7 separate regions of the Homo sapiens genome follow, and all the other regions are linked to region 3. The links are contacts of gene promoters, found by promoter capture Hi-C in blood cells and fetal thymus (Javierre and others, 2016). All regions are on one chromosome and are shown on one strand. Each heading gives the region's core, a stretch centred on a gene start or on the middle of the fragment in contact. The rest is flanking DNA. Distances are from core to core; before and after follow the strand shown.

What was found. The method cuts DNA at HindIII sites, captures the fragments that hold promoters and counts their contacts. A CHiCAGO score of 5 or more calls a contact.
Region 1: a contact is called between the fragment with the promoter of DCST2 here and the fragment with the promoter of UBE2Q1-AS1 in region 3, in 7 of 17 cell types (erythroblasts, fetal thymus, total CD4 T cells and 4 more). The highest score is 8.8, in erythroblasts.
Region 2: a fragment that was not itself captured here is called in contact with the fragment with the promoter of UBE2Q1-AS1 in region 3 in 2 of 17 cell types (M1 macrophages and fetal thymus); the score reaches 5.6 in M1 macrophages.
Region 4: a fragment that was not itself captured here is called in contact with the fragment with the promoter of UBE2Q1-AS1 in region 3 in 5 of 17 cell types (M1 macrophages, endothelial precursors, M0 macrophages and 2 more); the score reaches 6.8 in M1 macrophages.
Region 5: the fragment with the promoter of TPM3 here is called in contact with the fragment with the promoter of UBE2Q1-AS1 in region 3 in 4 of 17 cell types (M0 macrophages, M2 macrophages, endothelial precursors and 1 more); the score reaches 6.0 in M0 macrophages.
Region 6: a contact is called between a fragment that was not itself captured here and the fragment with the promoter of UBE2Q1-AS1 in region 3, in 6 of 17 cell types (M1 macrophages, endothelial precursors, naive CD8 T cells and 3 more). The highest score is 6.2, in M1 macrophages.
Region 7: a fragment that was not itself captured here is called in contact with the fragment with the promoter of UBE2Q1-AS1 in region 3 in 5 of 17 cell types (endothelial precursors, M0 macrophages, megakaryocytes and 2 more); the score reaches 9.4 in endothelial precursors.

Annotation. Positions count from the first base shown.
Region 1 is chr1:155,032,500-155,035,838 of GRCh38, reverse strand. It overlaps DCST2 (DC-STAMP domain containing 2), which reads left to right and starts at 2,058. Exons shown (of 15, transcript NM_144622.3): 1 at 2,058-2,405; 2 at 2,575-2,745; 3 at 3,071-3,172. The coding sequence starts at 2,138. It overlaps DCST1 (DC-STAMP domain containing 1), which reads right to left and starts at 2,015. Exons shown (of 17, transcript NM_152494.4): 1 at 1,985-2,015; 2 at 1,742-1,867; 3 at 1,279-1,404; 4 at 1,112-1,186. The coding sequence starts at 1,802. The HindIII fragment of the contact is 9,861 bases long and covers 1-3,339 here.
Region 2 is chr1:154,976,086-154,979,464 of GRCh38, reverse strand. It overlaps CKS1B (CDC28 protein kinase regulatory subunit 1B), which reads right to left. Exons shown (of 3, transcript NM_001826.3): 2 at 1,351-1,478; 3 at 214-740. The coding sequence ends at 688. Among named protein-coding and RNA genes, the nearest start is that of MIR4258, 2.1 kb to the right of the region's middle. The HindIII fragment of the contact is 2,679 bases long and covers 662-3,340 here.
Region 3 is chr1:154,552,324-154,555,630 of GRCh38, reverse strand. UBE2Q1-AS1 (UBE2Q1 antisense RNA 1) reads right to left here and starts at 2,022. Exons shown (of 2, transcript NR_046668.1): 1 at 1,959-2,022; 2 at 603-981. UBE2Q1 (ubiquitin conjugating enzyme E2 Q1) reads left to right here. Exons shown (of 13, transcript NM_017582.7): 3 at 99-203; 4 at 846-896; 5 at 2,459-2,599; 6 at 2,811-2,895; 7 at 3,167-3,227. The HindIII fragment of the contact is 6,880 bases long and covers 1-3,307 here.
Region 4 is chr1:154,913,449-154,916,644 of GRCh38, reverse strand. The region is part of intron 1 of LOC105371449 (a long non-coding RNA gene); the gene reads left to right. Among named protein-coding and RNA genes, the nearest start is that of PMVK, 22 kb to the left of the region's middle. The HindIII fragment of the contact is 3,055 bases long and covers 1-2,954 here.
Region 5 is chr1:154,190,186-154,193,408 of GRCh38, reverse strand. It overlaps TPM3 (tropomyosin 3), which reads left to right and starts at 1,309. Exons shown (of 10, transcript NM_152263.4): 1 at 1,309-1,507; 2 at 2,098-2,223. The coding sequence starts at 1,391. The HindIII fragment of the contact is 3,875 bases long and covers 1-2,172 here.
Region 6 is chr1:155,014,379-155,017,793 of GRCh38, reverse strand. ZBTB7B (zinc finger and BTB domain containing 7B) reads right to left here. Exons shown (of 3, transcript NM_001256455.2): 2 at 1,980-3,139; 3 at 1-1,574. The coding sequence starts at 3,133. The coding sequence ends at 1,109. Among named protein-coding and RNA genes, the nearest start is that of ZBTB7B, 13 kb to the right of the region's middle. RefSeq lists a cis regulatory region at 447, a silencer at 9-478 and an enhancer at 375-519. The HindIII fragment of the contact is 1,940 bases long and covers 577-2,516 here.
Region 7 is chr1:154,992,977-154,996,451 of GRCh38, reverse strand. LENEP (lens epithelial protein) reads right to left here and starts at 2,866. Exons shown (of 1, transcript NM_001394530.1): 1 at 2,137-2,866. The coding sequence starts at 2,844. The coding sequence ends at 2,659. It overlaps FLAD1 (flavin adenine dinucleotide synthetase 1), which reads right to left. Exons shown (of 7, transcript NM_025207.5): 7 at 3,341-3,475. The coding sequence ends at 3,415. The HindIII fragment of the contact is 1,856 bases long and covers 423-2,278 here.

The sequences.
Region 1 (3,339 bases), core at 809-3,308, 480 kb before region 3:
CCTGCCTCAGCCTCCCAAGAAGCTGGGACTACAGGTGTGCACCACCACATCCGGCTAATTTTTGTATTTTTAGTGGAGACAGGGTTTCACCATGTTGGCCAGGCTGGTCTCAAACTCCTGACCTCAGGTGATCCACCCGCCTCAGCCTCCCAAAGTGCTGGGATTACAGGCGTGAGCCATTGTGCCTGGCCTGTTTCTTCCTCTTTTTTTATTTTTTTCTGATCTTTGATATTATTGTATGAAGATGTGATGCCAGAGTTGCTGCAGCTATCTTGTGACCTGAAGAGAAGTGGTCAATAGACTGAAGATGGCAGAGAAAAGACAGAAGGAACCTGAGTCCTTCTCGAAGCTACTGAGCTGTTAAATTATCCAAACTGGGCTGGGCACGGTGGCTTACACCTGTAATCCCAGAACTTTGGGAGGCCGAGGCAGGTAGATCTTTTGAGGTCAGAAGTTCGAGACCTGCCTGGCCAACATACAGAAACCCCGTCTCTACTAAAAATACAAAAATTAGCTGGGCATGGTGATGGGTGCCTGTAATCCCAGCTACTTGGGAGGCTGAGCAGGAGAATGGCTTGAACCTGGGAGGTGGAGGTTGCAGTGAGCTGAGATTGAGCCACTGCACTCCAGCCTGGGCAACAGAGCGAGACTCCGTCTCAAAACGAAAACAAAAACATACAAACAAAACCAAAGCAAAACGGCTGGATGCTTGTCATCCTTGTTTACTGCTAAATCCTCAGCAGATTCTCAGTAAGTGCTGAGTGAATGAATGAATGAATGAATGAATTTAATTTCTTAGGAGGATCAGAAAACGAGGTCAGACAGGTCAGGAGAGATGAGAGTTATGAAGGGTTATGGGGTTGGACTATATCATGTGGGTGATGGGGAGTCCCTCGGAATGGAGAGACTCCCTCAGGGCAAGGACGGTGTCTTCCTTCTTAAATTGGCAGCCTCTTCCCTCTGGACCTCCCCGTAAAGCCCAGGAGGAGGCGGAAGCCACAGGGGATGTATGGGTACAGAAGAAACAAGTCCCGACTCCTTCCTGGGCATGCAGGACGGCGCTGTGTTCCACAGGCCGCTTGAGTGTTCCTGGCTTTTGCCCAGCACTAACCCACCAAGCTGTACAAGAACATAATCTTCTGTTCTTCGTAGATGTTCATGGGGTTCACCAGGAGCTGAAAGAGACCTAAGGGCACAAGGTCAAGCCAAAGGCCAAAAGATGGGTCCTAGCCCTGGTCCAGCCTCTGCCCACCCCGAACTTTCTGCTTCCACACTCACCTATGGCCAGGAGCCCCCCAGCGCCTGCCCCCAGCAGGAGAGCAGTGACAGGAAACTCGCCCGGCTGGCGCCACAGGAACCAGCTACAGGAGACTGGCAGCCCCCAGGTCAGGAGCCTCTGCACCGCTAAGAGGGGGACAGGGTAGCTCAACAGCCCACTCTTCTGCCTGGGATGGGGCTCATTAGGATTCAGGGCTTGCAGGTGGATAGAGGCTGGGGAAACCTGGCATGTGAAACAGTAGGAACTTAGGGGACCCTGGAGGAGGATGAGGGAGCCTGAGGAAGTGGTATGGGTGTAAGGGACAGCAAAGGCAAGGGCTGGGCTGGGAGGCGGGAGGCACTAGACCAGAGAGGTGGTGGAGGCGCGGACACCGAGTTGGGGGATAGTGTGCAGGAGTTCCAGGAGGAGAGATGGGATGAGAGTGGAGGTCAAGGGATACTGGGTCTCTGCTGAGTGACTCACTGGTATGAGGCTGTTTTCTTCTTTGCCCTCTTGTGCCATTCTGATGATGTTTAATGTCCATGAGTCTGTTTTGGGGAAGCACCACTCATCCCAGGTCTCCTGAAGGACCTCCTTGGACACAAGGTTCTGGTGAGAGAAGAGAGGTGCTGCCTGTCTCTTCCGCTTCATGGGAAGCCTAGGCCTGAGCTCTGGGCCTTTTAATCCTTCTGCTCCGAGAAGTGGGGAAGGAGATTAGAGACCTACCTATCCCCTCTCCAGTCCTCGGAACTGGGTCAAGGATTCCAAGACATATGCAGTGAAAGCCCTTTGGAACCTTAGAATACGGTGAGAAATTCCAGGAGCACAGAAGTCAGCGGGCATCTCCTGGAGACAGGCAGACATTTGGTCTCAGCAGCCATGCCCAAAGTCATGAAGGATGTTGTGCACCCCTTGGGGGGAGAGGAGCCTAGCATGGCGAGAGCTGTGGTTCGCAGCGTGGGAGGTTTTACCCTGGGCTTGTCTTTAGCCACGGCCTACGGGCTTCTGGAGCTACTGGTGGAAGGCCACAGCCCCTGGGGTTGCCTGGTGGGCACCCTCACTTTGGCTGCCTTCCTTAGCCTGGGCATGGGATTCTCTCGCCAGGTCCGAGCCACTGTCCTCCTGCTGCTGCCTCAGGCCTTCTCCAGTGAGCTTGGCACCCAGGGCTAGGGGGCAGGTCCTGGGGCTGGTGCTGGGGCAGAAGAGATGCTGGAGGAGAGGCAGGGGTTAAGGGAAATATTCTGAAGGCTTATGTAAGGGACTTGCTGCCATGTTTGGGGCTGGGGTCTTGGTTCTAACAAAGCTGTCGCCCCCAGGGCAGGGCCGGACACTACTGTTGGTGGCTGCTTTTGGGTTGGTGCTTCAAGGGCCTTGTGCCAACACTCTACGCAACTTCACCCGGGCCAGCGAGGCTGTAGCCTGTGGGGCAGAGCTGGCCCTGAACCAGACCGCCGAAGTGCTACAGAGGGCCAAGCAACCTCTTGTCAGTAAGTCCCCCACCTCTACCACTGTCTCCCACGGGCCCCCCTCGCCCCCCTCATCCTGCATGTTCTACAGTCCTTTGGCCTCCTTCTCTGCTGGTGCTAATCGCGGAGCATCTGGGCCTGGAAGGGACTCTGGGCACAGCTAAACCCTCTCTCCTTGCTCTCTGGCCTCCTCCACTCCCAGATTAACGATCTCCCAGGCCCCAGAATCCAGGCTTCCCGCCTCTGGAAATGGTGGCCTCCTCTCTACTCCCTGCTTAAGGGGCAATGGTGAGAACCAGCCCCTAGAGGAGAAGACTCCAAAGTGCCTCTGTCCCTCACCCATCAGGTGCCCTGAACAAGATTAAAGCTATTGCCCGGAAGACCAAAGAGGTGGCTGACCGGGTCCGCAAGTTCTTTCGGTCAATCATGGATGGTGTGAAACACATAGGTAAGCACATTAGCATGTCTATCCCGGGGACTCAAAATGCACCCAGTCCTGGCCGGGTGCGGTGGCTCATGCCTGTAATCCCAGCACTTTGCGAGGCCGAGGTGGGAGAATCACTTGAGCCCAGGAGTTTGAGACCAGCCTTGGCAACATGGCGAGACCCTGTCTCT
Region 2 (3,379 bases), core at 752-3,251, 420 kb before region 3:
TACCTCAGGCTAGTAGTTAGAGTGAAATATATTTCAGTAGATGTTTGACAGCAAGTCTGCTTAAAGTAGATTAAAAACCAGTTATCTCAATGTTAAACCTCATTATCAGCAAAGAGCTGAGCTTCATTATCAAACTGAAGGGCATATAATTAGAACCATGATATTGATGATGCTCACCCTGAGTGAGGGGGAAAAAACCCGTACAATTACAGCACTAGATTATAAAAACTTCCTCTTTAATCAAGGCTTTTAACATGAACAGATTTCTTGAATAAAATGGAAAGTTTCCAGTACACTGAAACATAAATCCGCAAGTCACCACACATACAACACCCGGCAGGAAAAAACAAAAACAGCAAGTTTACATGATCCCTGTAACAGCCATGGTCTCAAACTCAGATGCTTCCTCCATCTGCCAAGTGTGTTCTGGATACAGAGCACATCGTGGCTTCTGGGGTCACACTCAGCTTAGGCTGTGGGTCCACAGAGCACTCATCTGGCTGGGCTATGGTGGTGGTGGCTCTACTCAAGAAGCAAAGCAGTTACCAGCACATTCAAACAGTGTATTGAACATCTTTTAAATATCAAAGTGAGAAACAAGAAGGCAACATAATAATGTTATCAGAAAGATGTTAGGAAGTAAGGACAGCTGTGTAAAGCTTGAGGCTGAAAAGTAGCTTGCCAGCTTCATTTCTTTGGTTTCTTGGGTAGTGGGCGCCGGAACAGCAAGATGTGAGGTTCTGAAAGAGTGAGGGAAATCTAAGAGACAAGCTCACACCATTCTATGTACAACCTATAGTGTATTCCACTACCACCTCCCCAGCTATCACCCACTCAGATCTTTATAACTAAATAAAGACTTAAGCATATGGCCTTAGAAGCAGACCCAGAAGTCTGGACTGTCTGCCAAGTACAGAATTGTTAATATCAGTTCTTTTGCTATGTTTATACAGCCCCAGGGTGTCCCTTATTAGTTTTGCCTGGCAGCTGGGTGTCTGGTGTCTTATCAATAAATATACTTTCCTTTGCTTATTTAGAACACATCCAAGAATGTTTTCGATGGAGAATGAGGCAGGGGCTATGATCAGGCTATATGTGGCCTTAAAAAGAATACCCTCTGATTGAATGAAAGATTACAGGAGGTTTTTCAGTGACAGGTTGTCTCTGAACTTCCCAGATATTTTAGTCTTATTTTTGGTCACTAGTTTTTTTTTAAAAAAATCCCCCACGACTGGAGGGGGAAGGAACCAGTAAACCATTTCCTATCTCCCTATTTGGGTTATACAATCTTATTCTTTCATTCTCTCAGTGTAGCAGTTCTATATGGTTGTTTTTAGCCAGTGCACTGACCTGGTTCATGGATCATATAATGGACCCATCCCTGACTCTGCTGAACGCCAAGATTCCTCCATTCAGATTCAGACATCAGATGGGTTTTAGGGACCAGCTTGGCTATGTCCTTGGGCAGCATGACATGTCTGTAACAGAAACGGGGAAGTGGGGAATTTATGTTAGTACCAGATACAGTCTCTTAGACAAATGCCTGTTTACAAGGCCAAGAAAGGAAAGAAAAACTGGTTTTTGATGTCAGAGTTTATATAATTTTATTGTGGGGTAGCAGCAGCTAGAAATACAGGCTATGTTATATAAATTCCGAGAGTATATTAAAAATACAAATTAGTGAATAATTCCAGTGAATGAGCACTTAAGTTCAAGGCACATTTTCTCCGCCTTCATGGACCTTATAGTCTTCTAGTTGATTATCTACAACATAATGGGAGCCCCACGGAGCACACAGTGTTAATAATTAGAAGGAAGGAAGAGAAGTTATTTTGTGGCGAGGAAAGGCCTTTTATGAAGTACTGTGTGGACAAGTTATTACAAAGGATGAAATGAACTATCTTGTCCTTTAAAATCTAAGCCAGGCATGGTGGCACAAACCTACAGTCCCAGCTACTTGGGAGGCTGAGGCAGGAGGGTCATTTGAACCCAGGAGTTTGAAAAAGATACAGTATGAAGTTTGAAATCTGATTAAAATACAGAAGAAATAGGCCAGGGGCGGTGGCTCATGCCTGTAATCCCAGCACTTTGGGAGGCTGAGGTGGGTGGATCACTTGAGGTCAGGAGTTGGAGACCAGCCTGACCAACAACGTGAAACCCCGTCTCTACTAAAAATACAAAAATTAGCCGGGTGTGGTGGCATGCACCTGTAATCCCAGCTATTTGGGAGGTTGAGGCAGGAGAGAATCCCTTGAATCCAGGAGGCGGAGGTTGCAGTGAGCTGAGATCTGGGCGATAGAGTGAGATTCCGTCTCAAAAAAAGAGAAAAAAAATAAGAAAAAAGAAAGGGCTGCAATGCACAATGGTTGTGCCTGTGAATAGCCACTGCACTCCAGTCTGGGCAACAAAGCAAGACCTTGTCTCTTAAAAAAAAAATTAAATCTATCCTGAATCTTATTTTCCTAACTCTGGAGGGATGTACCTTGAGACTTTCTGGGTAAATTCCGTGCTTTTCTAACCAAGGATAAGTCTCCCTTCATAGCAAAAAAATTATTACCCTGATGTGAATCAAACTAATCCACATAGTCTTCGTCATGCTCAATGAAAATGTACTAAGTTCTCCCTCTGTGCTAGTAACAGTGATTCCCCACCATTCTCCTAAAAGAAAAAATTCTAGTCCAAATATAATGAAAATAGCTCACATTCTAACACCACCCTGGCACGAAATTTGGCTTCAATACATACACCAAAAAACCCCTCTTAAACCAAAGTGCCACTGCCAAGAGTTTCATCTTCCAGGGGATGAAATGGTGATTCCTTCCCAGCTCCACAAATCTCTTATAAGCACATACAGTTTTAAGTTAGTTTAGTTCAGATGTAGAGGAAAACAGCTGAGGAAAAGAAAGTTAATTAAAGGAGGGTCTGGAGCCGTCTTGGCATAAAGATGATTATGTATTTGTCAATGCACATCGAGTTCTCTGGAAGACCCAAAGCCCTGAACTAGGCTGGGTGAAGAGACACAAGAAAAGCAAGTTTTCATTTTATGTTCTCCAACTGAGGAGACAAGATACAAACCAGGAAGTGGTCTTAATTATTACAATTAATACAGATTAGCATAATGCCAACATTTGTGGAATCCTGTGTCTTCCCTTATTCCCAATCTAGATTATGCACTTAAAATTTATCAAGCCCGAATGCCACATCCAGTGCCAGGATTCCATCATCACCATCCTTGGCAGATGGCTATCCAGTGTCTTCTAAACAATTTCAGTCAAGAGGTGCTTCCTCCCACATACCTTTTTCTTAGAGTCTCATCTCAGGCTCTGCCCTCTAGGAAGCTTTCCCCAACATTCCCTCTTCCGTTTTTCCTCTCAGTATT
Region 3 (3,307 bases), core at 773-3,272:
TAGTTATTGGTGTGGGGCCCAAACTAAGAGCTCATCCATGCACTTATCCAGATCGGAGTGGGGAAGGATTTGATGTCTCTGTGCTCCCCTACCTGTAGCTATTGCAGCATCTGAAGAGGATCATCTCCGACCTGTGTAAACTCTATAACCTCCCTCAGCATCCAGATGTGGAGATGCTGGATCAACCCTTGCCAGCAGAGCAGGTGAGCAGCTGAGGAGCCTCGGGCCCTGTTGTGCAGAGTTGCCCCACAGGGTACTCAGTAAATAATTGAGACAAATCAGTAGTTTCTCTCCATCCCCACCGGCTCCCAAAAACATACACGTCTTATGACTCTCACCCTCGTTCTTCTCCAGATGGGAATCTTCTTTTGCTAAATGGGGCACTGGTAGCTTCATCTCTGATATCAAAATTCATTCTCATGGGCAGCATCCCAGATGTTGAAAGGGAGCGGGGGAATTTTTACCATTATCTTAGCAATAACAGTTGGTGGCCACTGGGGACCCAGGCCCCTTGGTGAGAACCAAGAATGCAATATCAGTCTAAAGAAGATCAAGTAAAGGAGGGGTTCTTAGGAGAATTAAACTAGGATTTAGGAGGTGGGTGACAGAGACAGCCATTTTGCTTTTCTTTTATTCTTTGGCAGTGATAGGCGAAAAATAATGGGCTGGTAGCAAAGCCATTCCCTGGGCTGTTGCTTCCACTCAGATCTGGCTGGTGGAGAGACTGGCAGCATTACAGGCAGGCGCACAACTTCCAGACCTGGGGGCTCAGGGGAGTAGGTTGGAGGCTGCATTCTAGCAAGCCACTGGGGCTCTGATCTCCATCTTTCCCTTCCTTGCTGCAGTGCACACAGGAAGACGTGTCTTCAGAAGATGAAGATGAGGAGATGCCTGAGGTAGGCTTGCCCCCTGAGGTGGCATTGGCTGGAAGCTCTTGCAGTCAGCAACATTGGTACCCATATCCAGAACTCCAGTCTAAAACTGGAGAGAGAAAAATATCAAAGGAATAAAGACAGATTTACTGACCTGGAGGAATAGCCAGTGTAGTAGAGGAGACAGGGCACCCATATCCAACCACTGAAGACAGGTGCAGCGCGGTTCAAACCAAATACTGGGTAAGTTAATTTCAAATGGCTTTGGAGTCCAACAAACCTGTGTTTGCATCCTAGCTATCCTAATTGAGGAATTTTATGTAATCTCACTAAGCTACAGTTTTCTTATCTATAAAGTAGGATTATAATACCTACTGCATATGGTTGTCTTGAGATTAAATGAGGTGTTATATATAAAATGCTTCAGATGATACATGATAAATGCTAAACAATCTATCTGATATATTCTCTAAAAACATACAGAATATAAAATCATGGTTAGGAATTTGAGCTTTAGAGCTAGACAGAACTTGACTGAATCTTAGCTCTGCTAAGAGCTGTGACTTTGGGCATGATAATTGACCTCACTAGACTCAGCTTCCGCATCTATAAAATGGATAATGATAGAATAATGAGTGATGGTGGTAAGAATGAAATGAGCTAGTATCTGCGGCACCTAGGACAGAACCTGGCATGTAATAAACACTCAGTAGACATTACCTGCTGGTGTGGTAATTAGGTATGTCCTGCCAGAAATGGGGAGATCACTCTGATTACTTTTATTTCCTAGCATTAGATTAATATCCCAGGTTCTATAACCGTGTAAGGTTCTTGAGACTGGCAAAGGGCTGACGACATGAAATTTACTCCTCCCAGATAGTGGACAGCCCTCTGGGCCACACCCCCAACATCTGGCTGAGGGGCTCAACCCTACATAGGTTCTCCTCCTTCCCTATGCTCAGTGAGCTAGTTGCTTGCTCACTTAGAGCAGGATGAATAAGGGGCTAATTCTGTTCTTGACCTCTTCCATATATCTCTCTGGACATCCTTTCTCATTTCCATCTGGCAGTGCGTGCCTCTGCATACCTGATTCATGCCTTGCATTTGTAGCGAGGAGAGGAGATGTAATGATTCAGGTTTCTCCTTTAGGCTTGGGGCCCTGAGAACTCCCGGGTGCAATAGTCACCTGGTGAAACATGAGCTTTGAGTCACAGGGTCAGGCCCAAGTCATTTCTGCTAGGAATTAGGGAAGAGTTTCTGCTGCCAAGGGAGTTTTAGGAACAGTTGGAGCAGGGTCAGTCCAGGAAACAAGAGGGCTAAGTCCCTGCCTCGATCTCAGCTGCAGCTCTGCTCGTTTCCGAAGTCCTTGCTGTAGCTTGAGAGCTGAAGATTTAGACTGTGGAGGGAATGGGGCTGGAAATTGTTCTAAAAATGGAAAGCACGTTGCGTTTATAAGACTGCTAGATGGACTGCTTCACTTTAACTTTTGGCTCTTCGCCAAATGGGACTGGGAAGGTGATGGTCATTCTCTAACCTGTGTCGGTTTTTTTCCTTTTCTTTTCACTCCCACCCCACACCTCCTCCAGGACACAGAAGACTTAGATCACTATGAAATGAAAGAGGAAGAGCCAGCTGAGGGCAAGAAATCTGAAGATGATGGCATTGGAAAAGAAAACTTGGCCATCCTAGAGAAAATTAAAAAGAACCAGAGGCAAGATTACTTAAATGTACGTGCCTTCTAGAGAGAGGCTGGTGAAGGGGTTGGTGGGAAATGGCTGGGAAGTAGTAGGCCATCGCATCTCAGTATGGAGAGCAGACTCCTTTTTTGTGCCTAATCCTTTCTTAAATCCTGGGCAAGCTGCCAGACTGCCCCTAAGGTCTAACGTGTGTTTATAAACCACACGACCAAGGAATGTTCCTGTCATCCGTCCCTCACAGGGTGCAGTGTCTGGCTCGGTGCAGGCCACTGACCGGCTGATGAAGGAGCTCAGGGATATATACCGATCACAGAGTTTCAAAGGCGGTGAGTTTGCCCCAGAGAGGGGCCTGCACAAGAGTCACCCATAAAGAAGGGTATGGTGGCAAGGGGCCCAAGAGGTTCTGGGGTCCAGGAGTGCTTATGAACTTTTCAGGCCAAGAATGGAGCTCCTCAAGCCAGTGGCTTGGTTGCATGTCCATCTGTGGTGAACCTAGAGCTGTTGATCTTTTTCTCTCAGTCTGGGAAAGGGGTCTGCATTAGAGACCACTCACCACCTGGACCATTCTACTAACACCTGTTTTTTCCCTCCTTCCAGGAAACTATGCAGTCGAACTCGTGAATGACAGTCTGTATGATTGGAATGTCAAACTCCTCAAGTGAGTGGGGACTCTGGGATTGGAGAGGAAGTTGAGGAGGAGTGTGAGTGGGGCTACTGTGGTGGGATCTCCAGGGCAGC
Region 4 (3,196 bases), core at 178-2,677, 360 kb before region 3:
CAGTCTCAAGTATTTATAGCAATGCAAAAATGGCTTAATGTAGATGGAATATACTCAGCCTCATAAAGAATATCTGTAAAAGCCCTACTGCTAACAACACACTTAGTGGTGAAATACTAAATGTTTTCCCCCTAAGACTGGGAATAAGGCAATGATGTTTGTTCTCATCACCTATTCGACATTCTACTGGAGGTTCTAGCCAGTGCAATAAGAGAGAGAAAAAAAAAGCCATCTAAATTGGGAAGGAAGTAATAAAACTCCTTTTATTCATAGATGACATGATCATCTATGTAGAAAATTGGATGGATTCTCCAAAAAAGCTATTAGAACTTATAAGTGAGTTCAATAAAGTTGCAAGGTCAATATACAAAAGTCAATATTTCTATTTCTTAGCAATGAGCAATCAAATTGAGATAAATAATGCCAATTACAATACCATCAAAATATGAAATAGGGATAAATCTGATAGAAGACATAACATCTGTACATTGAAAATGACAAAACATTGCTAAGAGAAATTAAAAGACTAAATAAGCAAAGAGATTATACTACATTCATATATTGGAAGACTCAATATTGTTTATTTTTTTGAGTTGGAGTCTCACTCTGTTGCTTGGGCTGGAGTGCAGTGGTGTGATCTCGGCTCACTGCAACCTCTGCCTCCCAGGTTCAACTGATTCTTGTGCCTCAGCCTCCCATGTAGCTGGGATTACAGGCACATGCCACCACACCCGGCTACTTTTTGTATTTTTAGTAGAGATGGGGTTTCACCATGTTGGCCAGGCTGGTCTCAAACTCCTGACCTCAAGTGATCCGCCCACCTCAGCCTCCCAAAGTGCTGAGATTACAGGCATGAGCCACCGCACCTGGCTCAATATTGTTAACATATTTATTTTTTAAATTCAGGTATAATCACACACAGTGAAATGTACTGACCTTAAGAATACAGTACAATGAGTTTTGACAAATGTGCACACCTGTATAACACAAACCCTTATCATGATAGAACACATTTTCATTATTTCAGAAGGTTTCCTTTTAACTCATCCTACTCAATCCCTGCTTTCCCAGAAACAATTGTTTTGAATTCTTTCACCATAGATTAGTTTTGCCTGTTCTAGAATTTCACACAAATGACTAACATCCAACTTTAAACCAAATTTACAACAATGATTTATAATTTAGACTTCACCGGTTTATTGCTCATTTTCAATCCTTTTATAGTACCTCAACTTCCCCATTTTTGAATTTTGTATTTTGATTCCTCTCCAGATAGTTAATGTGTCTTGAAAAATTTTTTGAAAATGGTATGTAGATGATTTTTTTTTTTTTTTTTGAGACAGAGTCTTGCTCTGTCGCCCAGGCTGCAGTGCAGCAGCATGATCTTGGCTCACTGCAACCTCTGCCTCCTGGGTTAAAGTGATTCTCCTGCCTCAGCCTCCTGAGTAGCTGGGATTACAGGCATGTGCCACCACACCCAGCTAATTTTTGTATTTTAGTAGAGATGTGGTTTCACCATGTTGGCCAGGCTGGTCTCGAACTTCTGACCTCAAGTGATCAGCCTGCCTCGGCCTCCTAAAGTGCTGGGATTAGAGGCATGAGCCACTGCGCCCGGCCATGATCTATTTTCTGAACCTATATGTATGAGAGAATGACATTCTCTTGCCTCTATATTTGGACAATGACTTGGTTGGCATAAGTTTCATGACCTGGTTCCACTGTCTGGAGAGTATGAGGTCACCTTGACTTTTGTTCCTTTGAAGGTAACCTTCTTTTTTTGCCTGGATGCTTTTGGATATTTTCTTTCTTCTTTTTGTCTTCATTTTCGAAATTCAAATCCTGGCATTCTCCAAGGCAGAGATATGGACGTGTCTTAACAGGAAAAAGTTGGCATCTTATTGTTCCTGGTAAAGCATTATTGAATAATGAGATGGGAACTGAAATGGTCTTGTGCATCCAACTGTCTGCTGTAACCTAAAGTAGTCACCTTGGGCATTTGGGCTGAGACACTTCAGGGCTGTTGCCTTTATCAAATGGCTTTGGGAGCTCCTCTTTGCTTTGAGGACCTGCCCTCAACTCTGCCAAATTCTCATCCCCAAAAGTGCATTTGGGTTTTGGAAACGACCAAAGGGAATTTGGTACTAAACTCTGGTGAAAGAGACATCTTATGGCCAGGAAAAATAGTCCTGTAATGTAATAATTCTAAAACTTACCAAAGTTAATTCTCAGAGAGGAATTTTTAAAAGTTGCCTTAGTAATCAAGCCTCTGTATCTTCGCATGTGCCATTCATGCTGCCTAAAGTACCCTTCCTAGTTGCTTGGGCTTGGACCCCTACAACTTGAGCAGAGCAAGGGGCACTCCACTTCCATTTCCAGAATGCTCCACAGTGTACACTTTCTCACTCCTCCACCATGCTGTGAGCAAGTAAGGAAAGGTTTTTTTCCTTTCGAGTCTTTGGTACATTGCACATAGTAGAGGTATATTAGTCGGTTTTGCATTGCTATAAAGGAGTACCTGAGACTGAGTAATTTATGAAGTAAAGAGTTCTACAGGCTATACAAGCATGGCACCAGCATCTGTTCTGCTTCTGGTGAGGGCTCAGGAAGCCTCCGCTCATGGCTGAAGGCAAAGGGGGAGCAGGCGTGTCACATGGTGAGAGAGGGAACAAGAGAGACAGCAGGAGGTGCCAGGCTCCTTGAAACAACCAGCTGTCCTGTGAAGTAACAGAGAGAGAACTCACTCATTACCACTGGGATGGCACCAAGCCATTCATGAGGGTTCTGGCCCCATGACCCAAACACCTCCCATCAGGCTGTACCTCCAACATTGGGGATCACATTTCAACATGAGATTTGGAGGGGATAAACATCCAAACCATATCAGTAGGTCTCAATACATGTTTGTGACAATGAAGAAAGTTTATGTGTTAGAAAACAATATGACCTCCTAAGCTTATTGTCATGAAGCAGTTAGCAGTCATTTGGATGTATTAAGTTATGGCGAATGTGTTTGAAGCAAGAACAAATTGCCTCCCGTTGCATTACTCTTACTCATTATAGACAGTCACATGCTGGCAAATGTTTAACAATCAGCTCCCTGGAAGGGGAAAAACAGCCCTGATTTGTAGTGTTTGACCATTTCTGTAGTGTAAATATTCCCACTGTGGCTGATTTCAATCTACCAGTGGGATGTCAG
Region 5 (3,223 bases), core at 60-2,559, 360 kb after region 3:
CACTTGCCCACCCCCCCCCCATTTTCCACTCCTTCCTCTCCCTGTTCCCTAACCCCTTTCCCTGGCTAATCTCCAGAGAAAGGAGACTTGGTTTCTCCTCTCTCTGTCGAGAGTCAGCTGATGGTCTATCTGCCTATCTACCTCTAGTGACTGGAAGCTCTCAATAGTGGACTCCAGCTCTGCTCTACCCACTGGCCTGGTGGGTGTCTCCGTTCCCCCATTGCTGGGGCTTAGCATTAACTCTCAGTATCCTGACATAAATGACTAACTAGAGCCATTTATATTTGTCCAATATATCTGGTCACCTTGAACAGTGCCCACCTCTCCCTTGGCATATTTTCAGGTGTATGGTGCCAGTGGACTGGTATCCTTGCCACCTGTTAGTAACAAGGCTCCCAATGGAAGAATAAACATGGTCTGGAACTAAACTGGAAAGAATAGAGCTGATAATGATGATTACGATGATGTGGTGAGTGGCAGCGTTGGGGAGAATTAAGAAGGGAGAAGATAAAGGGAAGAAGAGGAGAGAGCCACACAGACCAAAGTCTGTGTGGGTACAACAGTTCTATTTTAAGATTACTGTGGGAAAACAAAGGGTATGATCCTGTCTGGATTGTTCTGACCCTCCCCTGTTTCTCTCCCCACCCCACTTGAAGCTCTGGGATAGCCTTCAAGGATAGGGTTGGAGATTCCAACCCTACCTCTTACTCTACTCTTGTGGCTCTTGGTGGGGAGGAAAAACGTCTCCCTGCCAATCGGAGACTCCCAGAATAGCACAGCAATTTGATCTGGGGATCTGGGAGAATTGTTAAGGATCATGAGTGACCTCCCCTCTTCCCTGTGCCCAAGCTCCTTGAATACCAGGAATCAAAAGCTAAAACTCAACTAACGGAGTTTGACCAGCATTCAACACAGTCTGGGGGAGAGTGAAACGGGAAGCTGAAAGGCAACCAGGACCCCCTGGATGCAAACTGCCAACCTAGAATTGCCAAAGTACACTTCTCTATTTCAATGTTCTTCCCTCCCCTCTTCCTCTTCTTTTAAAACATCCATAGAGCTGCCCAGAATGAGTGGAAAGTTTCAGGGTCAGGGAGAACCTCTTCCCTCCCCCACTTTCCATTGTCTAAAATCAGCCTCAGCTGTTGCTAGATATTTTTTTTGCTGGTGATGTCAGTTCATCAAAGCGTCTCACCCTGTGTTCCCCCAGGAGAACAATGATGGGGTGGAGGGAGCTGGAAAGACCATATTAGGAACAAAAGGTGGAGCTATGAGCACAGATAAAGACTCAAGTCTGGGGACCTCCTGGTCACTCAGGCAGCAGCCCCTTCTTTCTTGCCCCAGTCTCCAGTTCTCCAGTGTTCACAGGTGAGCCTACCAACAGCCACTGCTCATGATGGAGGCCATCAAGAAAAAGATGCAGATGCTGAAGTTAGACAAGGAGAATGCTCTGGATCGGGCAGAGCAAGCTGAAGCTGAGCAGAAGCAGGCAGAAGAAAGAAGTAAACAGGTAGGCACTGGCATTGATCTCTCTCATCTGCTAGTGAACAAGACTGTGAAATGGAAGGGAGTTTTCATGGGAAAGACAGTGACTACTGGTGTCACCTCCTTTTTGGGGGTGGGATGGACTCCCCAGCCTCACTGGAGGAGCAGAGGATATCTAACATATCTGTCTCAGACTGCCTTTGTGACCTTGGGAAAGTCAGTGAGCCACAGTATGTCTGCTGAATTTAAGTAGAAATGGACCATGTTTTGGAAGAACCCTTGACTTCTAGAGGAAAAGGTAAGAGTTCTAGAGGGAAAGAGCATCTCTTTTCACTCAAATAGCATCACGGGCATCTACACTTTAGATATTTATCATCCAGGGGTCTTGGATGAAAACCCAGGATGGCTTGGTCATCTTAGGATCAGAGATTACAGGGTCACAGGCCAAGCTACGGCATAACTCCTGAGGCAGTGGGCTGGAAGTGGCTGGGGAGAAAGTGTGTCTCACTAGGGATGGTAACATGGAGGTTACACTCAGGGCTCCAAGAGCCCAGGGTCCAACCCTGCATTGTTGTGTTTGTGTGTTTTTGTGTGTGACTCTCTGGGCTCCTATAGCTGGAGGATGAGCTGGCAGCCATGCAGAAGAAGCTGAAAGGGACAGAGGATGAGCTGGACAAGTATTCTGAAGCTTTGAAGGATGCCCAGGAGAAGCTGGAACTGGCAGAGAAGAAGGCTGCTGATGTGAGTATTAGAGAGATGGAGGATGGGTTTAATCTACACATATAGATCTTTATGTTAATGTATGACGAAATTCCAAACACACTTGTGGGTTCATGGAACACAGACATATATACTCACATACATTTTTGCATATAACCACATGCTGGTATATTCTCATAATGGCATGTATTTTCTTTCTTAAAGACATCTCCAACATGTTAAAAGTTTTTTTTTAATACATGTAAAGGTCTCATTTATCTCCTATCACCAACCCAGGAATTTAATTATCTTTCCCAGGACCTGGACAAAGAGAGGGGACTCTAAGTTCAGAATGCTGTCACTTATCCTACCTCCTCCCCCATGCCACATTCTTAGCTTTTATGTCCAAGTCTTGGCATGTGGATATGTGTATTAATAGGGAACCTCTCATCTCTCAACTGTCCAACAAAACCAGCTCGGATTTCACAATGGGAAATGGAGGTCACACTGACCCTGGCCATATATGGGTTTATTTATCTTGGCCAATGCAGGCATTTGCCTTTATGCCATGGAGATGCCATATGAAGCATTGCTCCTAGGGCAGCAGAGAGATCCCTACAGTGACAGAGTATAATAGAAACTAAGAAAGAATCTTAGGGGGTAAAGGTATCACCACCAGACTTCACTCTATGACCGTGAGTAATTACTCAGCTTGTCTAGGGCTGAATTTTCCCATTCTCAAATAAAATAAATTCTCTTTTCCATCTCATATTATCCCATCATCATCACCTACTTTCCTTCATCTTTAACCTTGAAGTTTGCTGCAAAGATAAATGAGAGAGTAGATTGAAAAGTTTTTTAGAAGAAAAGTACCATAGGAATCTTACCAACAACAACAGAAATGTCCCAGTATTGGTGGAAACAAGTTTCTCAGTGAACTGAGTTAATAGGAAAAAAGGAGCATGTAATATTTAAAATCATATTTGGGCTGGGTGCGGTGGCTCACGCCTGTAATCCCAGCACTTTGGAAGGCCGAGGCGGG
Region 6 (3,415 bases), core at 297-2,796, 460 kb before region 3:
CGAGAAGTTCTGTGCCCACTGCCTTGGCAAGGGGGCGCCGCTCACCAGCTGGGGTGGATGAGGAGCGTGAAGACAGCTCGCTCCAGTGGCCGCGGGGGGCGCTCGCCCACTCAGAGCATGGCCGCCAGATGGCGCCGGCTCGCCCGCTCTCCACAAGGCTCTTCCAACCCCTTACCCTGTCCCACACCCTTCGCTGCGCCAGCCCGGGGGCGGCGTGAGTCAGGGGCGGCAGCGGTGGCGGCGGCTCCGGCTCGCACCTGGGCGGGGAGGAGATGGGGAGGAGGAGAAGAGGGTAGGACGCCGCCCGGCCCGCCCTGCCCTCTGGCCCCGGGGAGGGAGCGGCGGGAACAAGACATTCCCTGCCCAGGGCCGTGGGGAGGGAGGGCTAGGGAGGGGAGTGGAACGGAGCGGCTCCCCTAGCTGGGCGGGGCCCCTCTACTGCCCCCAGGGGCAGGCGAGCCAATCAGGCCACCCCGCCCCCTTCTCCACGACCCCATGACTCAGCGCCGGGAGCAGGGCGGAGGGGGACTGGGATGGCTCCTTCCTTACAGGCCCAGTCCCCCAGTCTTTCAAGCTTCCACCTGGCTTTCCCCCACCTACCCTTCCTTTGCCGGCCCCCTTTGCATAATTCACTGCCAGGAAAAAGGAACAGAAACCAGGAAGGAGGGGTCTCGAAAGGGAGGGGCAGTCCTTCACCCCCTTACACAGCCAAAACCCCCAAGGGGCATAGGGGCGGGGCAAGGCTTTGGTCCCAAGCCCCCACCCCCTAGAAACCCGCATAGCCGAAGTGGGACCCACAAATTAGAAATACATTATTGCTTCTACTCCCCAGGAGCAGCTGGGGACAGGGACCCCACTTTTACAATACAGCTGTAAATATATACACAATATATGTATCACTCCTTGGGGGATCACCCCAATTTGGGGAGCCTCTGCCCCAATACCTTCTTAGCTTGGAATTGGAATGAGGGCTCTGGGAGGAAGGGCTGATGCTGATGCCAGCAAGGCTCCGTGCCCCAGACCCCTGCTGTGTCTGTCCTGCGTGCTCCCACTGCTTGGCATGGGTGTCCCCGGCCTTGTGCTGCTTCAGTCTGGCCCTCGTCCCTCTTTAAGAGGACTCCATGGCACCTTCAGCCTGGGGTGTGGTGGGTGCCCCTTCCTCCTCATCGTCATCAGGGGGCCCTGGGGTAGAGACCGGGGGCCCAGTGGGGGCTGACTGCTCCCAGAATCGAGCTAGAGAGAGGCGGAAGGTGTCCAGGTGGCCATTGGAGAGGTCGAGGCCAGCGGGGGATGCAGCAGCGGTAGAGGGTGGTGGGTAGTGGGGTGGTGCATCGTCCTTGCGGCGCCGTCGGGTGCGCACCTCCAGGCAGTTCTGGCCTTTGAGGTGGCGCTGCAGGTGGTCCTCCTTGGCGAAAGCCTTGTGGCACAGGTGGCACTCATAGGGCCGGTCCCCTGTGTGCAGGTGCATGTGGTTCTTGAGGTCGTAGCTGTGCAGGAAGCGGGCTGGGCAGTGCGGGCATGAGTAGGGGCGCTCTCCCGTGTGCTTCCGCATGTGGATCTTCAGCTTGTCGTTCCTGGCACAGGCAGGGGTGAGGGGCAGGGAGGTGTTCAGGATGGGATCCCTGGCTCCTCCTGGTCATCCCACCCTGGCCTTGTCCCATCCCTGTTCCTCACCATTTGTTACCCCACTATTGCCCCAGGAGATACCCTGCTAGCTCACCTCTAGCTTAACTAGGCCTTGTCATTATCCACTCCTCTGCTTCCAGCACTGCCCTCCTGGGCACCGAATCCTCCATGCTCCAGATCCACCCCCTGCTGGCTTGTTTTCTTCTGCTCTCCTCACTCCAGTAACCCACCCATGCCCCAGTCCCTCCAGGACCACCTACCACCACCTCGGGTCTCCTAACTTCTTCCCCATCTCCTCCCACCCTGTCCCCTACCCATGGCCCCTGCCGGGCCCTTCCCCCCTTGCTGCTCACCTGGTGAATCGAACACCGCAGACCTCGCAGGCAAAGGGCTTCTCGCCTGTGTGGGTCCTCATGTGGCGAGGCAGTTTGCCTGCCCCATGGATGATCTTGTGGCAGACAGGGCACTCCTGAGGCATCTGGGAGCGGCGTTTGCGCACCAGCTTGTCTTGGCTGTCCAGGCCTGGTGCCAGGTTGTCCTGGTGCAGGGAGCTTAGGTAGGCCATCAGGTCAGGATCGATGGCATCCTCATCTGAGCCCAGCTCCTCTGGGGACAGCGGGGGCCCGCCACCCTGCGCCAGCCCATAGGCTGGGGGATATACCAGCTCCTCTTCTTCTTCCTCACCCTCATAGGGTTCGTAGCTCTGGGGACCCTCAGGAGGGGAGGCAGTTCCTGTGGGAGGGCTGTAGCTGTCCCCCGGCCCACTGCCCCCACTGCTGCCCACTCTGCCCGCCACCTCCTCCTCCTCATAGGTCAAGGGATGGGCGGGCACTGTGGGCACCTCAGGGACTAGGTGGTTTGCTCTGGCCCCCTTGGTTTGCAGGAAAGCTTTCCGGGGCTTGCGGCTGCGGCGGGCAACAGGCCGAGGTGGCGGTGGCGGAGGTGGTGGGAGGGGCACCTGTGGAGGACTGTCTTCACCATTGGGAACTCCAGAGGCCGTGGCTGTGGCAAAGGCCTCCAGATACTGGCGGGCTCGCTCACAGTCATCCTCGTCCGGGCTGGGAGCTTCTAGCCCACTGCCCTGCAGAATCTCCATGCAAGCAGCGATGACACACGGGATCTCCAGCAGGCGGGCAGCCTGGAGCACAGCTGGCATGTTGGCGCTGCTGGTGGTCAGTGTGGCTGTATAGGCAAATTCAAGGAGGGCGCCTAGTGCCTCTGGCCCTACAAAGTCCAGCTCACACACACCGGCCCCTGCTCCCCCAGTGGCCGTCCCGCTACCCCCGGCCCCCATGACAGCTCCGCCACCGCCCTCAGTGAAAAGCTTCTTGAAGTAGTGGCTACAGGCAGCTAGCACAGCCCTGTGGGTGCGGTATTCAAGGCCCTGCGTCCGGATGGTGAGGTCACATAGGTGGCCCAGCTGGCGCTGCTCATTGAGGCAGCTCAGGAGCTCACTGCTGTGGTCCGGGAATGGAATCCCAATCAGGTCATCCTCGGGGCTCCCCATCTTCTCCTGCAGAGTCAAGTAGAGGGGAGATTAAGAGCGCTCAGCCCACAGGGGTCTGGGGAAAGAGGACCAACTTTAGCCAATACTTATTGAGGGATGACTGCATGCCAGTCACCCTTCTGAGTACTTTACACTCATTTCATCTTCCAGAACCCTCTGAAGTATGATCATCATCTGTTTCACAGACAAGGAAACTGAGGTTCAGACAGGTGAAGTGATTTTCCAAGTTAAGTGCAGAACAGTGTTCAAACTCAGGGAGTGGGCCCGGTCCTTGTTCCTAAC
Region 7 (3,475 bases), core at 101-2,600, 440 kb before region 3:
CAGAACAGCGTGGAGAGTATGTTAACTAGGAAGAGTAATATATCCAGAATCCAGCCACCCCTCACTACTGCTATTGCTATAAACCTGGTCCGAGACCACCAACATGTCTGGCCTATATTGTGCCATTACCTCCTAATAGGTCACTCGTATTCTACCTTTGCTCCCCTGAAATCTATTCTCAACACAGCAGCCAGCTTGAGCCTTTTAAATTAAAAAACTCATTTCACACTCAATATTCGGCAATAGTTCCTCATTTCACTCAGCATAAAAGCTCAAATTCTTAGGCCCTCTATGACCTGCCCCCATTCCCACCTCCAGCTCGATTTCCACTTCTTTTTTCTATAGTGCCTATCATCTAATAACATATACATACTTTAAAAAATGTTTATAGTTTGTCCTCTCCACCCCCTAAAATGTAAGCTTCACAAGTACAAGGATCTGTTTTGTTCACTGCTGCATCCAAAGACCCACAGTGACATATAATATACACTCAATAACTCAATATTTGTTGAATGAATGAAGATGCAGTCTATGCACAGACTGGAATGTTCTCCAAGAAACTGGTAACCATGGTTGCCTCCAGGGGGAGCGCTAAAGGATTGGGGGATAGACGTGGAGACTTTTAACTATTAGAGTTCTTTTTTTTTTTTTTTTTTTTTTATAAGACGAAGTCTTGCTGTGTCACCCAGGCTGGAGTGCAATGGTGCAATCTTGGCTCACTGCAACCTCCACCTCCTGGGTTCAAGCCATTCTCCTGCCTCAGCCTCCCAGGTAGCTGGGACTACAGGCATGTGCCACCACGTCCAGCTAATTTTTTTGTATTTTTAGTAGAGATGGGGTTTCACCATGCTGGCCAGGCTGGTCTCGAACTCCTGACCTCAAGTGATCCACCCACCTCGGCCTTGTCCCAAAGTGCTGGGATTACAGATGTGAGCCACCGCGCCCGGCCTTTTTTTTTTTTTTTTTTTTTGAGACAGAGTTTCATTCTTGTCCCCCAGGCTGGAGCGCAGTGGCATGATCTCAGCTCACCGCAAACTCTGCCTCCCGGGTTCAAGTGATTCTCCTGTCTCAGCCTCCCAAGTAGCTGGGATTACAGGCACTCACCACCTCGCCCAGCTAATTATTTTTAGTAGAGATGCAGTTTCACCATGTTGGCCAGGCTGGTCTAGAACTCCTGACCTCAGGTGATCTGCCCGCCTCTGCCTCCCAAAGTGCTGGGATTACAGGTGTGAGCCACTGTACCTGGCCTGGCCTAAAGTTCTTTACTCTGGGCATATATCACCTTTACAAAAAGAATCTAGAAAAAAAAAAGAGTTAACTAAGAAGAAGGCTGAGGAAGAGCTGGTCCCAGGCAGGGAGGAAGAGGGCACTATCTATAATCTCCAGGCCAGTGCCCCAAGTGACAAAGGGCTGGGGGATGATAACTGGCCCCCCAGGAGGGGCCAGAGAATGCTGGATGGGAATCCCAGGGAAATACTGAACAGTCCCAAACAGGCTGGCTCTGAGGTTTGGGGGGCTGTGGGTGGGCAGATCAGTAAGCATAAGCACCCCCTGAGCAAGACGATACACATGGCTGGTGTATATCTACCACCGGGAGTAACTCATGGAAAATACCAGCTGTGGCTACCAAGAGGAAGTAAAGAGCCAATTCTGCTCAATCTAGCTGTTTATGTCCTGATAGGGCTGTGTCATGATAAGCCTGAGGGACCTGTGTGGCCACACAGGTGTCTTTCTCTGGTAACTTTGTATGTGAGCTGGGAGCTCTTGTAGCTCATGGGGTCCTACTTCCTTGATGAGCTGGGGACTAGCCTCAGCGCAGTGCTTTCCCCAAGATCCTCAGAGGCAGGAAGCTGCCTGGACCAGGTCTTCTATTTGGGAAAGGGCTGGGTCCTCTGGGTTTCCACACACCCTTGGCCTCACAGATGAAGACCCTACTCAAGCTGGGTCCCCTCCTTACCCACAGATTGAGAGGAACCTGAACTGTCTTCCACCCTCCCCACTCAGGAACCAGTGAGTCAGAAAACCTGGCTTTCAATCTTGGTTCTATTCAGGACAAGCTCCTTCCCTCCCTGGTCTGCACCCTTGCTCCCAGACCGTTCTAGTGCTGACTTTTTCTGATTCCCCTTTAGACACTTATAATCTTGGGCCTCAAGGCCTATGGATTATATTTATAATTCAGTGATTCTCAAACAGGTTTCTTAGGGGGCAGTCCATTCTTGGTACTATGAGGGTATGGTAAGATCAACCATCTGAGCTGGTGGGCTCACTGTGCCAAGCTTGGAGGAGTGCCAGGTCTTGCCACAATCTTACTGGGGTCCTAGCCAGAGCAGTCCAAGCTCCTGCCCACCAGAGGTCCACCAGAGGCAGGGGTTGGGAATGAAGGAGGCTCAGAGATGAGGCAGGTCTGCTAGATGACACAGCTCAAAGCAGGATCCACACTTTACTGTTTACTCATTGTTTATGGCCCATCCTTGGTCAAGCACAGCTGGCTTCAGGAGTCTTGATGGCAATTGGGCTGGGGGCTAAAGAAGAGAATGAGAAGCTAAGGCAAGCTCTGCCACAGAAGCTGCAGCTATGCCTCCTGTTTACTCTACCCTGCCCACCTGAGCGATGCCAGCCATGGTGCTGGTGGGGAGAGGAGGCAGTTCCCTGCTACCATTAATCCAGCAGTTCCTTGATACACCAGCAGCAGAGGAGGATGTAGGCGACTTCCTTCAGGGTCCGCTGGAAGCCCTCCCACCCTGTGCCCATCTTAATGACAGGCACCCGCAGCCCAGTGTCTCGAGGGGCCCCTCCGAGGAAGAAGGGTAGGGTTTGGGCTAGGGGCTGTGTCCGGGGCTGCATGTGGGCAACAGTTCCGAGGAAGGGTGTGGGAGCTGCCTCTAGTGCCTTTTATCAACACTGTCCCCACCCCCTTCAGCCTCATGACTACAGAGACAAAGGATCCAGGGTCTAGCAAAGGGAAGGTTCTAGGCCTGGGAACAGGCTGAGTCAGCCCCTCTAGACAGGGATGGGAGGGTGGGGTTAGTGGGAGGGAGGGCCTGGCCACTCCATCTTTCATCCTCCACAGCTAGGCCAAGGCAGCTTCCCCTCTTCCAGCCCAGGTGGTGCCCTGCCTGATTGCCCTTTTCCCAGTGGTTGGCACAACTCCTGCTTTCGCCCTCTGGTGGGCTCCTGCTGAGGCTGACATTGAGAACCATCAGTGAGAGCTCCTTTCCAGCCTGTTCTGCCCTGCCCCTGGGCCCCTTAGAGTGAGCACAGCCAGTCAGAGCTGGCAGCATTTGACCCACTTCTGCTTCTCCCATCCTCTGGAGCAGGAAGACACAGCTAGAGCAACAGGCACAGTGAGAGGCACGGTTTATTGCCAGGTTATACCCTAGGACGGTGTCCTTCCCTCCCTCCTAGGGTGGGAGGTCATGTGCGGGAGTTCCGCTCCTCTTCTTCGTTCTCCAGTAGATAGGCTGGACGGTATGTG